2 separate regions of the Homo sapiens genome follow, and region 1 is linked to region 2. Evidence: promoter capture Hi-C in 16 types of primary human blood cells and fetal thymus (Javierre and others, 2016). All regions are on one chromosome and are shown on one strand. Each heading gives the region's core, a stretch centred on a gene start or on the middle of the fragment in contact. The rest is flanking DNA. Distances are from core to core; before and after follow the strand shown. Region 1 overlaps LOC112268016 (collagen alpha-1(I) chain-like). Region 2 holds the start of COX6C (cytochrome c oxidase subunit 6C).

Evidence for each region. The method cuts DNA at HindIII sites, captures the fragments that hold promoters and counts their contacts. A CHiCAGO score of 5 or more calls a contact.
Region 1: a fragment that was not itself captured here is called in contact with the fragment with the promoter of COX6C in region 2 in 1 of 17 cell types (fetal thymus); the score reaches 5.8 in fetal thymus.

Annotation. Positions count from the first base shown.
Region 1 is chr8:98,932,324-98,939,604 of GRCh38, reverse strand. LOC112268016 (collagen alpha-1(I) chain-like) reads left to right here. Exons shown (of 2, transcript XM_047422523.1): 1 at 1-1,970. It also overlaps a transcript of STK3 not described here. Among named protein-coding and RNA genes, the nearest start is that of OSR2, 8.5 kb to the left of the region's middle. The HindIII fragment of the contact is 2,000 bases long and covers 1,457-3,456 here.
Region 2 is chr8:99,888,525-99,894,961 of GRCh38, reverse strand. It overlaps COX6C (cytochrome c oxidase subunit 6C), which reads left to right and starts at 1,255. Exons shown (of 4, transcript NM_004374.4): 1 at 1,255-1,323; 2 at 2,910-3,054. The coding sequence starts at 2,941. RefSeq lists a silencer at 1,474-1,643 and enhancers at 1,117-1,764, 1,765-2,413. The HindIII fragment of the contact is 2,962 bases long and covers 257-3,218 here.

The DNA.
Region 1 (7,281 bases), core at 1,207-3,706, 960 kb after region 2:
TGAGCAGCGCTACCCTCCCGTCTCCAGACTTGTTTTTAAAAGGCCGGCTGAAGATTGCCTTGGACGTTCCATTTCTCACTGCAGATTTCGTTTCCCTGGGACGCTGGGATAGGTCCGAGTTACCCTCTAGAGCAGCGGTTCTTAAAGTGTGGTCCAACAGCATTCGCATCATCTGGAACTTGTTAGAAATGCAAACTCTCTGGCCTCACCTACTAAGTCAGAAACTGGGAGTGGGGCCTGGCAATCTGTGTTTGAGCAAGCCCTCCAGGTGATTCTGATGCATGGTAAAGTTTGAGAACCACTAACCTAGATCAGATTGACATTGGGGTCCATCGCGGGCGGGCGCGATTTATCTTTCCCGCGCGTGCTCTCTCTCCTCCTCCGTCCCTACCTCTTCCTTCTTCCTTCACTCGAGAGAATGCACGCATAAACGCATCTGCTTTAGGCAGCTTATTCATTCATTCACTCGCTCACTTATTTCTCATTCATCAGACTTTCCAAAGGCACCTTCAAGTACTTGGAAACGAGCTTAGGATACCTAGGGGAACAAGGCTGTACCCCTCCCCGCAAGGAGTCGGCATAAGATGGTGGGGAGAGCAATGGAGAAAAAGTGCGGGTGCCTTCTTTCACGGCCAGTTGTTGTTAATTAGTATTATCTAATACTAGATCTGACTGATTTCCGGAAATGTCGCACCTCATTTTACAGTTTCTAACTATTTGTAACACTTGCCTGCCTTCCTTGTCCGTGCCGATGTCATTCTTTTATTTTCATCACATTTTAGGGATTCTGTGTGTCTACTGCACACCTTCCACACACATCTTGACACACATTGCCCACACCTTGCCAACCCTCCCTGCAGTAGGTCAGAGTGCATGACACTGGGGGTGAGGGAGTGTCAAAATCCGAGGGACCACGGGTGGGCCAGGGCTCAGAGTCTCTGTGCCCCTGGATTACCCTGAGGCTGGGCAGGAGGGTCTGAGGACAGCTGGAACTGACTCACATGTTCCCCTCACCCACTTGGTGCACACTGGCTCCCACCCTGCTTCCTGCTGCCTCAATCTGCCTAGCTCTCCACCTTCAAGTGCATCCAGCATTGGCGTCCTGATTTGTCACCTTAAGATGGAATCAAGTCCCTTTGCTTTTCTTGAGGGAGTATAAAATAGTCTCCCTTCTCCCCCAACTAAAAATCTGAATGACACTGGCACTTTCTAGTCTTCTTATGCCAAGTCAACTTCCCTTATGATTGTTCACTTTGCACTTTCTCTCTAGGACCTTCACTTGAACTTCTCTCCTCGGCCAAAGAGCTGCCTCCACTGGACCATTTGCTTCCCTCCAGGATTTTCTAGTTTTGGGCAGTGAACAATAGAAGGCACTTTGCCTCCCCAAAATCCCGTCTAACTGGAAGCCTCTTGTCATCATCTATTTTCAAGTTTTTTTAGTTTTTTTTTTTAAGCTTTAATTTTAGTGAGTCAGTGCAGGGAAGCCACTGAAAACGCATATAAACAAAAATGAATTTTCATACTGACCATAGTCATAAATTGTACAAAAGTATTCATCATCTCCACTTTGACAAAGGGTTGCTATTTTCAAATGACCTTTTCTTATGGGGATTCTCAAAATATAAGATGTTACAGTGGTCAGGAATGTGGTAATCTCTTTACTACCAGTGATTCTATTTCTTAACAGAATTTTGCTTCCCAGTGCAGATGGTTTGATATAGTAACATTCAAAGCAGCCAGCCCTTAGGAAATGCCAAGGCCAATATTTGAATGCAGATACAAGTTTTAACAAAGGAAAATGTAGTATATCCTTGTAGCTGTTTGCCTGTGAATATTCCCCTGGAGGGCTAATACACTATTCTTGAATCTAATCCAAGTCAAGCCAACTCTAAAAATCCTGTGAAGTACCGACTAATAAGGCACATACAATTCCTTTTCAACAGTTTTCTTGAGTGTCTACTATGTACCAGGTAAGAGGCAATTGTGCTATTGTTTGAAACCTTGAACTTTCATCCTGACTTGGGGGTAGAAGTGAGGACAAGGAAGGTGGAATTTTAAGGTTGGATCCCCTTGGTTTTGTTAAATTGTTAAAGTATTTGTATTTAATGGCAATCTTTAAAACATTTATTGAATTCTGTCTTACATTTTTAGTCATTTTTATAAGTCAAGGAGAGAAAATCAATGTTTAAGCCAGCCCATTTATTAGAAAGTGAATGCCAGCACAGGCTTAACTTCTGGCTTTCCAACTGGAAGACAACATTTTATAATGATGTTATTTCACTTCATGCCAGGTGATAATTCCACTGTAGCTTCATTGTGATTGGTGACCATAGCTCACTCAAGCTGATTCTCACTTCCTGACTGTAAGGAGCCACAGAGAAAAAACAAATCATTCTTCTTCTGGCACCCTTGCTGGAGGAGGAGTAAGGGAAGAGGCAGACGGCTAGATTGGCCCCATCCTCATAGTTTTTTGGGAGAATTTGGAGCAGGACCAGCTCAGATCAAAGTTTCAAAGAATACTGGTCTTATAAGAAGTGATGAGCTCTGTTATCTTTGCCTCTGAGCCCAAAACACAGAAAACTTCAATGGATCTGGAGACATACCAGTATGAGAAGCCCCCCTCCACTCTTTACAGTGTCTGCTCATACTGCTTGTCTTAGCCACATACTTCACTTTTCAGTCACCAAACCCCTCTTCCCTTGTCCTTTCCCCCATACCATCCCTGGCCCATGCTTTGCAAGTGGGCTTGCCTCCAGGAATCAAACTGGGTGGATGCTATGATGTCAGAACACCAGGCAGCAGTGTTTCTAACGTGTTAGACCATGGTTGTCTTTTTCTTTTCCTGGAAAAGTACACTAAGTGCAAGTTGTCTCCCAGGCCATGAGGCACACATCCAAATGCCCTACGTGGTGGGCCCGCCCAGGCCCAGGAGAGTGTGGAGAACAAGTGTGTCATATGGGTGTGTTCACTAGTCCTGCTCCCCCTCTGTCTCATCATTGACCACATTCTCTTGACAAGCCATATGGCCTGGGAGTGACCTGGAATATATTAAGGGCATTGGTTTGTAGAACACTTGCAGAGCAAGGGAGCAATAGCAGAGTGGTATTTTAGAGTTGGTAATTCATTTAATGTACATTTATTGAGGATGTTTGGTATGGTAGGCCTTGTGGTAGGTACTGGGAACGCAATAATGAATTTGGAGCTATGGTCTACTGGGAAGATGTACAAGTAAATAGGCAATTATGATATCGTATGCATCAGAAACCCTGGATCCAAGATCCCTAGTTAATAGCTCTATTATGTTGGGCAAGTCATGTTGCTTGTTGAACCCTCTGTGTCTGAATCTGCAAATTAAGGATATTCTGAGGGTTAAATAACATGGATGCAGGCCAGGCATGGTGGCTCACGCCTGTAATCCCAGCACTTTGGGAGGCTGAGGTAGGTGGATCACAAGCTTAGGAGATCGAGACCATCCTGGCTAACACAGTGAAACCCTGTCTCTACTGAAAATGCAAAAACAAAATTAGCTGGTGTGGTGGCGGGCACCTGTAGTCCCACTACTTGGGAGGCTGAAGTGGGAGAATGGCATGAACCCGGGAGGTGGAGCTTGCAGTGAGCCAATATTGGGCCACTGCACTCCAGCCTGGGCGACAGAGTGAGACTCCACCTCAAAAAAAAATAAATAAATAAAAACAAAAATAAATAAATAAATAACATGGATCCATATTAATGCTCTTAGTAGTTATGACTTTTTCTTACCCATTAACATGAACTGACCTTACAAAATTATTCCTCCTATCCATGTAAGAAGTTGGAGAGAAAACCAAGGGGAAGAAATTTGACTCAATACCTATTATCTGGTTATCAAGAGTATACAATTTAAGCTGTTGGAACAAATGTTAGAGAAAAAGTTACTCATCTGCTTTGACAGTAAGACTTTTACCAAGAGAAAATGTCTACATTTTCATTTTTTACTGAAAAGTAGGAATACAGTACCATGCATTATATTATAATCTTGTTTTAATTGCAATTAGAGAATACATGGAGTGAATCTATAATGAATAGGTTGTTTTAAGCTTCTAAGTTATTATTTTGGATGCTATTCTCTAATGAAATAATGATGCAATTAATTTGGGGATACTATTGATGTATGAGGCCTTGAGGAAGGAGATTGTATTAAAATACAATTGAGCTGTGTGTATCAGAAAATCCAAATTAACATGGGTTTAAACAACAGAGAAGTTGACTTCTCCCACATAAATATAGACAAGCCAGCATCAATATGGTGGATAGCTTCTTCATTATCAGGTACTTGGGCTCATTCTATCATGTGTTTTCACCAACTTCAAGCCATGACTCTTACTTTATGGTCCAAGATAGCTGCATTCTGACCCACAGCAAGAAGGAAGGCATGAAGGAGGGCAAGCCCCCCACCCCCACCTCTAAGGAGACTCCACAGAAAGCAGAACCTAGTCACCAGGCATATCTAGCTGCAACGGAGGCTAGGAAATGTAGTCTTTACTCTGGGTAGCCATGTGCCCAGTTTAAATTCAGACTTCTATTACTAAAGAAAAGGAGAATGGATATAGGGAGACAACCAACAGTTTTAGCCATAGGATGTCTAGGCTTGTGCTTTGCTCTTTATATATGTCATGTTATTTTATTTTATTTTATTTTATTTTATTTTTGAGACGGCGTCTCGCTCTGTTGCCCAGGCTGGAGTGCAGTGGCACAATCTCAGCTCATTGCAACTTCCACCTCCTGGGTTCAAGCTTATTCTCCTGCCTCAGCCTCCCGAGTAGCTGGGATTACAGGAGCATGCCACCACACCTGGCTGATTTTTGTATTTTTAGTAGAGACGGGGTTTCACCATGTTGGCCAGGCTGGTCTCGAACTCCTGACCTCAGGTGGTCCATCCACCTTGGCTTCCCAAAGTGCTGGGATTACAGGTATGAGTCACCGTGCCCGGCCTACATATGTCATCTTATATGTGTTGGCACCATAATCACTGTCATTGGTTCTACATCGTTTTCACTGACACCTTTGCTGCTTTTATGGTTTTAAGCACTATATGCATTGGCAGGATTCTACTTTGGAACCCCTGAGCATATTGCCACTACTTGCCCCTTTTTGTTCACTCTTAGTTGTGGCTTCCGATATGCAGCTTTCTTCTTAGAGTGGGGAGGTGTGAACAAAGAAGGTGGGTCGGACTTGGAAAAGAGAGGTTTCAGGAACCTGGCTGGGGATTGTTGGGGAAGGCCACTTGTACCACATGGCAGCATTCCTTTTGTCAGATATGTACTAGGTGTCAGGTGGGCCTAGTGACTGGGTCTTCTGCAGCAGGACTTCATTTTTTCCTTGGAAGATGGAATAGGAAATGAAACAAAACAGTACATACTAGTGGAAAAGTCCCTGTACTGAAGCCCTGGATTCTTCCTGGCTCTGTTGCCATATAAAGCAGACTTGGTCGGCAACTGCTAAAGGCAGGAATGGCCTTTTTATTAATATAACCTCATAGTCAGAGGCTGCAGAAAAAAATGTGCAGCTTGGGTTCCCCAGAGGGGCAGAGTCAAAACTGCAAGCAGACCCCACACACAGCAGGGAAGGCCCTGCTCAGCCAGAGCCCAAGGACAATCTCTAAAGATAAGTGTGGAGAGACTTAATTACCATTTAAAATTGTCCTGGCCTGACCTCTCTGCCTGGTGGGTTAACTTTGCTTCTGAGCCTTGTCCTGTGTTAATACTTACAGGCTCTATTCTCTCTTCCAAGTCTAGAAGTATATTTAGTAACATAGGTATGGAAGGAGGGTGGCAGGAAGGGCCTAGAGCTCCCCAATCTCACCTGGAATCACTCTTCAGGATGCTGCTTGGCTTGGGGCAAGTTTGAGTATGGAGGTTACATGCAGGGTGTTGATGCCAATATATGGGGAGAGGGATTATTTCCCTGCAAAAACATCTGGAGTGACACTGAAGACATACTTATATACAATTTACATGAGCCCCAAGGGCTTCCCATGCCTGAGAGAATTGGATAGATAGTTCCTATTACACATTTATTTCCTTAAAGGAGATATTTTATATTCTACCCTGTAATTCAATTCTTTTGACTCCCCACTCTGCTAAAAAGAAAAAGGACATATAGTCCAAACAATTTTTAAAATACATTTCCCCCTCCAAATAGTAAATGTGCACAATTTGTGCAGATTTACACACATCTGTAAGCTATGCCTTGTTTATGCCAGTGCTTACAATATTTTAAAAATAAAGGATAATGTTTTTCGGTCTGTATACAATAGTATTTTCTTTTATCAACTCCCCACATACAAATGTATTTCGCTTTTTTAGGGTGTTATTACATGTCTAAATAGTAATGTACACAACTGATACATAGGAAGGACACATATGTTTTACAACAAACATACCAAAGGATGTAAAATACTCATGCTGACTCTTTAGAATACAATACCTAATAACCTGCAGAGTTAGAAAAGGCCATGTAACTTGGTCTGACCCCATTCTATGTGTTGGAGTTAGAGGATTTAGGATCATGGAATGTAGTTTAGAGACGATATAACCCAGGTCTCTCATTTTACCTATGTGGCCACAGAGGCTCAGGAGGAAAGTAATTTCCTCAAACTAGCTGACTTTTCCACAGCACAGACCTGGGGCTACTGATTTCAGGCAAAAGGCTCTTTCTCTTATGACCAGGTAACAGTCTAGATTGAAGCTGGAATTTGGCTCTGGGAAAAAGTGGTGACTTGATTCCAGCAGAGTAATTGGCTGTATCAATAGCCTCTGAGTATCAGAATTCCATTCAACCCCAGCTGTCCTCCCAGGGCCTAACTTTTCGAAGTATGGCTGGAGGACCAGGAGCATTGGCCTCACCTGGGGGCTGTTTAGTAATGCAGCAGACCTCCTGAATGAGAATCTGAATTTTAACAAGATAGTTCCCTTGGTGATATGCCTATAGACTAAATTTGGAAACAACTACTCCAGGCCACTGTGCCTCTATTGCCAGATAATTTCCTTAAAGCCCTTTTAAATCACTTTCCTCTGATTCATTAAACACCTACAATGGCTTCCTATTGCTTATCTCTTCCTATCCAAATGTTTTTGAAAGTCGAGTGTTTATCTACTAAACCTGGGGAGTACTGTTTCCCTGGTTATATACTTGACTTGCTCTAGAGCTAGACCTGGGAATCCAGCTATTGATATTTAAAGACCTCCTCCAATGACTAGCCTTCATGGGTCCTTAAATTGGCTGTTTGAGAACTATTGATCC
Region 2 (6,437 bases), core at 6-2,505:
ATGTCTCTCTTCATCTATCGCTCAGGTTTTATTCACGTGTCACCCTCAGTCATTCACTATGGTTCACTGGATAGCTAGGGAAGCACAGAACAAACACTCAGTATTTCACTCAGGTCAGGCTCTGTGCCCTGAGTGTGCCTGTCTTTGCCATGTTCTCCCAGCCAATGTTTTCTCTCCAATTTCTCCAGTTTTCCAGGCTTTCCATTAGACTGAAACTCAGCTCTGCTTCCATCTCTTCCACGTATTGTCTGAAGCTTTCCCTGATGGTTTCACATACACTAATCCCTGTGAACTCTTAAGTTCACCACTTCTTCTCTGGGGGTGGGGATGGAAAGAGAATAGAAACAAATTACTCTCTGGACAAATTCCATGCAAAGATTTTCAGCTGGGTAGACCCTTGATAAGAGGCCTGAAAAACGTTGGTAAAGTCCAAACCTACTTTTGAACCTCAATTGAGCACCTTTCTTTGTGGCCAGGTTTCACCCTCCAGAGTGTTGGTTAATAGGTTGAGGACAAAGACTCCCTGATCAGAATGAGACTCCCCGAAGATCTGTCCTCTTGTTTAGCAGAATCTGGCACATAGTAGGTACTCAGTGTATATATCGACTCAATATCATGCATCTGTTGTGTCCCAGCTACCTTCCACAGGGCTTGATGGGTTGACTTAAATAATGCTTTTAAAATTCAGGTTATTTCAATACAAACAGCCTGGCATCATTAAGGCACAAGAGCCTCACCCTTCTACACCACTTTCCACGAACTTCCAGTTGCCTTCCTTCAAAATCCTTGTTTTCTTAAGAAACCCACAAAAATACCGCCCCTCTATCAAAACGTCCTCAGCTTTGCCAGGTAGAGAATTGCTTCTGCAGTAGCTGGGCCACGTCTCTGTGGTAGTGCCCACTGCATGGGATCGGTATTAATCTGTTTGTCTTTTTCATCTTCTGGGCTGTGAGCTCCTAGAAGTCAGCTTTTTCACTTTTACCCAAGCCAAACGGTTATTCGCGTAAGGTTGGTTATAATTAAAATGTCGGTTTGTGCACATGGTTTGGGACTCTGTGTATGAGTACGACTAATATCTTCAATTTACTAAGAAGATAAAGAGGTCGATAAATAAGGAGGTCAAGCCCGTTTTGCAAGGTCACACAGGAAAGAAGCAGACCACGAAATGAACTTCGGCTGTCACCTGCGGTGGGCGCACTAGAGGTCTTTTGAACTCCTTCGGCTACCGTCGCCGCGTTCTCGCTGTGCACTCTTATTCTGCGCCTGCGCGCGGCTACAGCACGGTTCGTTTTTCCTTTAGTCAGGAAGGACGTTGGTGTTGAGGTGAGTCCGGTCCCTTTTGCATCCCTACCCCGACACTGCGGGTTGTCACAACGGCACCCTCCCGCTTTCTCTCTGCCTCGGATTTAGTCGTGACTGTGTGTCTCCGCCGTGGTGCAGCTTCAGGCCTCTCCCGCATCTACTCTCTCACGCTTCCGCTGCGGCCTGAGGGAGGGCGGCGGGCGGACCACGGACCGGGGTGGGTTGCGACGGCCCCACCGAAGCCGGGTGGGCTGCGGGACCCTCGAGAACCCAGCTGGCTTCGGAGTGAGCTGGCCCGGGGCTGGTACCCGCTGCGCTTTTTCACAGCCATTGTGACCTTGGTGAGGTCATTTGACCTATCTGGCCCCGGTGTTTCTCCCGTGAGAAAAGGGGTGGTGGTTTCTAATGCAGCTGGTCGTGAGGCGCAAGGGTTAGTGTAGGCGAAGCAGCTGGCAGCGTCGCTCGCTGTGTGGCAGCGTTTTAAATTAGAGCTGGAAAACTGGAGGAGGGTCACCGTACCTGCCGCAGGAGGGGAAGGATGGGCTTCCTGCAACCTCCCTTGCCCCACGGCTTCCCATCCTACCCCCGGCCGCGTTAGCTGAAGGCCAGCAGGGACGCAAAAGTTTTTAGGCCCCTTAGGTCTTTAGGTGAGGCTGGGCAAAGGAGCAGTTAGGGAATTTGGGCCCTCATGGTATTTGCCGCGTTCCCGTCCAGGTTTTAATGGTATACCGTGTGACCGTGGAAAACACCTGCCTCATGATCTGACAGGGTTGTCGCGAAGGTTTAACGAGTGGACAGAAAATTTTTAGAAGAGAAAGTGTTGCATAAATGGGTTTGCAATCGTTAATTACCAATGCGGAGCTACTGCTTATTTTTCTTGTTGTTGGAAAGATTTTTGTTGCCTTTGCTCGTCCATTACTAGTGTGCCGCAGTTTGTCGCGTTTATTTAGGGTGGTCGCTCAGTATATGGGGGGCGGGGGGAAGATGAAACAGGCTAAGCCAAGAGACAGCTTAGGCTTTGTGGGAGGAATCCATCCACTGTCGTGCTGTGCCTCTCTAGGTAGTAAAATGTACTATGCATGAGAATTCCTTTTGATATCTTTTCTGAGTTTTTCTTTTATTATTTTACCCGAGAAAGGGAAAAAAAGCTCAGAGTAGTGAGAGCTACATGAGGTATGCAGGACGCAGAGACCTGAGTATTGGACTTCAGTGCCGCCCCTCACCCATGTCTCAACCCAAATCTTATTCCTGAATTTGTGATATAAAGGACAGCGTTTAGTCAGTCAATAGCTTATGTTATTTTAATGTAAATTTTTGATAAACAGTTTAGGAATTGCCTCTCATTTTTTCTTAACTCACTTGTAGGCCGGAATCCCAGCACTTTGGGAGGACGAGGTAGGATGATCACTTGAGGGCAGGAGTTTAAGACCAGCCTGGGGAGCATAGCTAGACCCTGTTTCTGCCAAAAAAGAAAAACATTCATTTGTAACTGCTGCTAATCGGAGTGTATATTCAGGGCAGCTCCAATCAATGCTTCCAGGTGGCCATTCTCAAGTTTGTGGCTTAAATAAACTCTGTACTTAATCATATTTTCTGAATCTCTTAAGGTTAGCATACGTATCAAGGACAGTAACTACCATGGCTCCCGAAGTTTTGCCAAAACCTCGGATGCGTGGCCTTCTGGCCAGGCGTCTGCGAAATCATATGGCTGTAGCATTCGTGCTATCCCTGGGGGTTGCAGCTTTGTATAAGGTATGTATGTTTTTTACTTTGTGCCGAAGGTCATAAAGTATGTGTTTTTGGTTGAAAAATCTTTTAAAGAAACTCCCCCTTGTAATGTGTTTCTTTCTAACCCTTTCTGCACTCACCTCAGTGTGACAGGAACTATAGCTTGTCCTCCATCTTTAAATGAAGCTTGTTAGTTTGCTGGAATGCCGTAACAAAGAACCACAGACTGGGTGCCTTAAATTTGCTCGCAGTTCTGGAGGCTAGAAATCTGTTGGCAGGGTTGATATCTTCTGAGGCCTCTGTTGGCTTGTAGATGGCTCCCTTTGTCTTCACAGGGTCCTCTGTGGGCATATATCTGTAGCTGAACTTCTTTCCCTTTCTTTTCCTTTACCTTTCCTTCCTTTCCTTTTTCTGCCCTTCTTTTCATTTTCTTTCCTTCTTTCCTTTTTCTTTCTTTGAAACAGGGTCTTACTCTGTCTCCCGGTACCTGGGACTGCAGGTACACACCACCGGAACTGGCTAATTTTTATATTTTTTGTAGAGATGAGGTTTCAGAGATGGCCACGTTGTTCAGGCTGGTCTTGAACTCCTGGGCTCAAGGGATTCACCTGCCTTGGCCTGCTAAAGTGCTGGGATTACAGGCATGAGCCACCACACCTGGCCTGCTGAATTTCTTAAAAGAACATCACTCATATTGGATTAGGGCCCACCCTAAAGGCCTCATTTTAACTTAGTTATAAAGCCCTTATTTCCAAAAAACGTTTAGATTCTGAGGTACTGAGAGTTAGGACTTAAACACATGAGTTTTGGTCAAACACAATTCAACCCATTACAGAAGCTAGTATGCAGAGGGGCTGGGAAGGCAGCATAGCTGCCCCTCTATCCATGGGGAATTGGTTCAGGAGCCCTGACGATATTTTAAATCATCTCTGGACTACTTATAATGCCTAATGCAATGTAAATGCTATGTCAATAGTTTATATTGTATTTTTAATTTTGTAGCATTTTTTATTATTTTGAATCCATGAGTGTGGAACGTGCAGGAATGGTGGGCCGATTATAGTTCTGTTTGACACCTTGAGTAATTGTCACAGAATTGCGTTTTAACACTCTGCCTAATGTGGATTTTGTTATGCCCTTTATTTTTAATCAAAGGCTGCACATTTACAACTTTTCCGTAAAAATGTTTTTGATAATATGTATATGTTTATCATGCTTGTCATAATACCCCATGAAAGAATTCAGAGCTTTGCTTTTATAACTCTTTGTATTTAATTTTTGTTTAGTGTTTATGTTCTTTACTGGGCTGTGAGCCTCATTAAGGCAGGTACCATGTCTTTTGTTTACTGTGGCACCCTGTTGTTGGGTGCCTGACACACAAATAGGTTATTAAAAGGACCTGTTGAATAAGAGGCAGTGTATAAAATTCAGTACAGTGTTGGGTAATGTAGAGTTTCAAGTGCTTTGGAGGACACAAAAGGCATGTAGCTAAATCTCTGTTCTTAAAGAACTTAGAGTCAAGTTGGGGAGGTGAAAAAAATTAGAAGACATTGCAAGATAGAACATAACTGAAAGAATGGTTTTGGGGGATGTTGTGGTTCACAGTTATTGTGGGTCATAGCTATTTGATAGAGGAGGTGGAATTTGAGCCTTGCAAGTTAGGGAGAGGGGCTGGGTCTGGTGTCTCATGCCTGTAATCCTGGCACTTTGGGAAGCTGAGGTGGGCGGATTGCTTGAGCTCACGAGTTCAAGACCAGCCTGGGCGATATGGAGAAACTACGTCTCTACTAAAATACAAAAATTAGCTGGGCCTTTCTTCTTTTTTTTTTTGTTTTTTTGAGATGGAGTCTCACTCTGTTGCCCATGCTGGAGTGCAGTGGCGTGAACTCAGCTCAGTGCAAGCTCCGCCTCCCGGGTTCACGCCATTCTCCTGCCTCAGCCTCCTGAGTAGCTGGGACTACAGGCGTCCGCCACCACACCCGGCTAATTTTTTGTGTATTTTTTAGTAGAGACGGGGTTTCACCGTGTTAGCCAGGATGGTCTCCCATCTCCTGACCTCATGATCCGCCCGCCTCGGCCTCCCAAAGTGCTGGGATTATAGGCGTGAGCCACCGCACCCGGTCGCATTTCTTCTAAAAATACAAAAATACATGATGTGCCTGTGGCCCTAGCTACTCAGGAAGTTGAGGTGGGAGGTTGGCTTTAGCCTGGGAGGCAGAGGTGTCAGCCAAGATTGGGAGGCGAGGCCAGGTACAGTGGCTCATGCCAGTTATCCCAGCACTTTGGGAGGCTGAGGCGGGCAGATCACCTGAGGTCAGGAGTTCGAGACCAGCCTGGCCTACATGGTGAAACCCCATCTCTACTAAAAATACAAAAAAATTAGCCGGGCGTGGTGTCGGGCACCTGTAATCCCAGCTGCTCGGCAGGCTGAGGCAGGAGAATTGCTTGAACCCAGGAAGGGGAGGTTACAGTGAGCCGAGTTCGCACCATTACACTCCAGCCTGGGCAACAAGAGCGAGACTCTGTCTCAAAAAAAAAAAAAAAAAATTGGGAGGTGGAGGTTGCAGTGAGCCGAGATCGTGCCGCTGCACTCCAGGCTGGGCGATAGAGCCAGACTTTGTCTCAAAAAAAAAAGTTAGGGAGAACTGGGAGAGCAAAGAGGAGATGGAACACTGAGTGGGAGCACTAAGTGGACCTATGCTTTGGGACTCTTTGGAGAGACAAGCACACAAAGTCTTTTGGTCCTTGAGATTCCTGCTGCCTGGCATATATAGTGGGCATGAAGTAAATGTTTGTAGAAGGGATGGATGTGATGCAGAATTTTTGCTCCTTAGTTTAGCTAAATTTGGGTTCTTGTGTCATGACCAGGAGGAATTAGGCACATGGAAACATTGAAGGGTGAGGAGGGCTGAATTTATTGGGTGAAAAGGAAAAAAGAAAACAGACTCTCAGCAAAGCAAGAGGGGGTCCTGCTAACAGGCCCCCACCTCACAGATTGAATACTAGGCTACCACACAGGAGCTGAAGAGACTAGGCTCCTCCCCACTGCACAAGGTGCAGCTTCTCCTGGTTCCACCCTGTTCCCCCAGTGTGCCTGTGGCCATTACTCAAAAAGAATCAGTCCTGAAAGGGTGGGCAAATGTGCAGCTCTCCCTCAGGGTCGTGGGATCTGGGTCCAACAGTCTGGCCTTTCAGCCTTCAGGCTGTTTTAGGCTTGAAGGTGGGTTTTTGCTAGGACCCTTGGCTGTCTCTCTGTCAGATGGATGACTAAGTGAGGTAGGGAGAGTCCAAATTAACCGTACATGTAATGATGGCCCCCAGCACTTGTGCTTCTGCCTCTTTTTATTTTAATTTTTTCAAGACGGAGTCTTGCTCTGTCACCCAGGCTAGAGTGCAGCGTCACCATC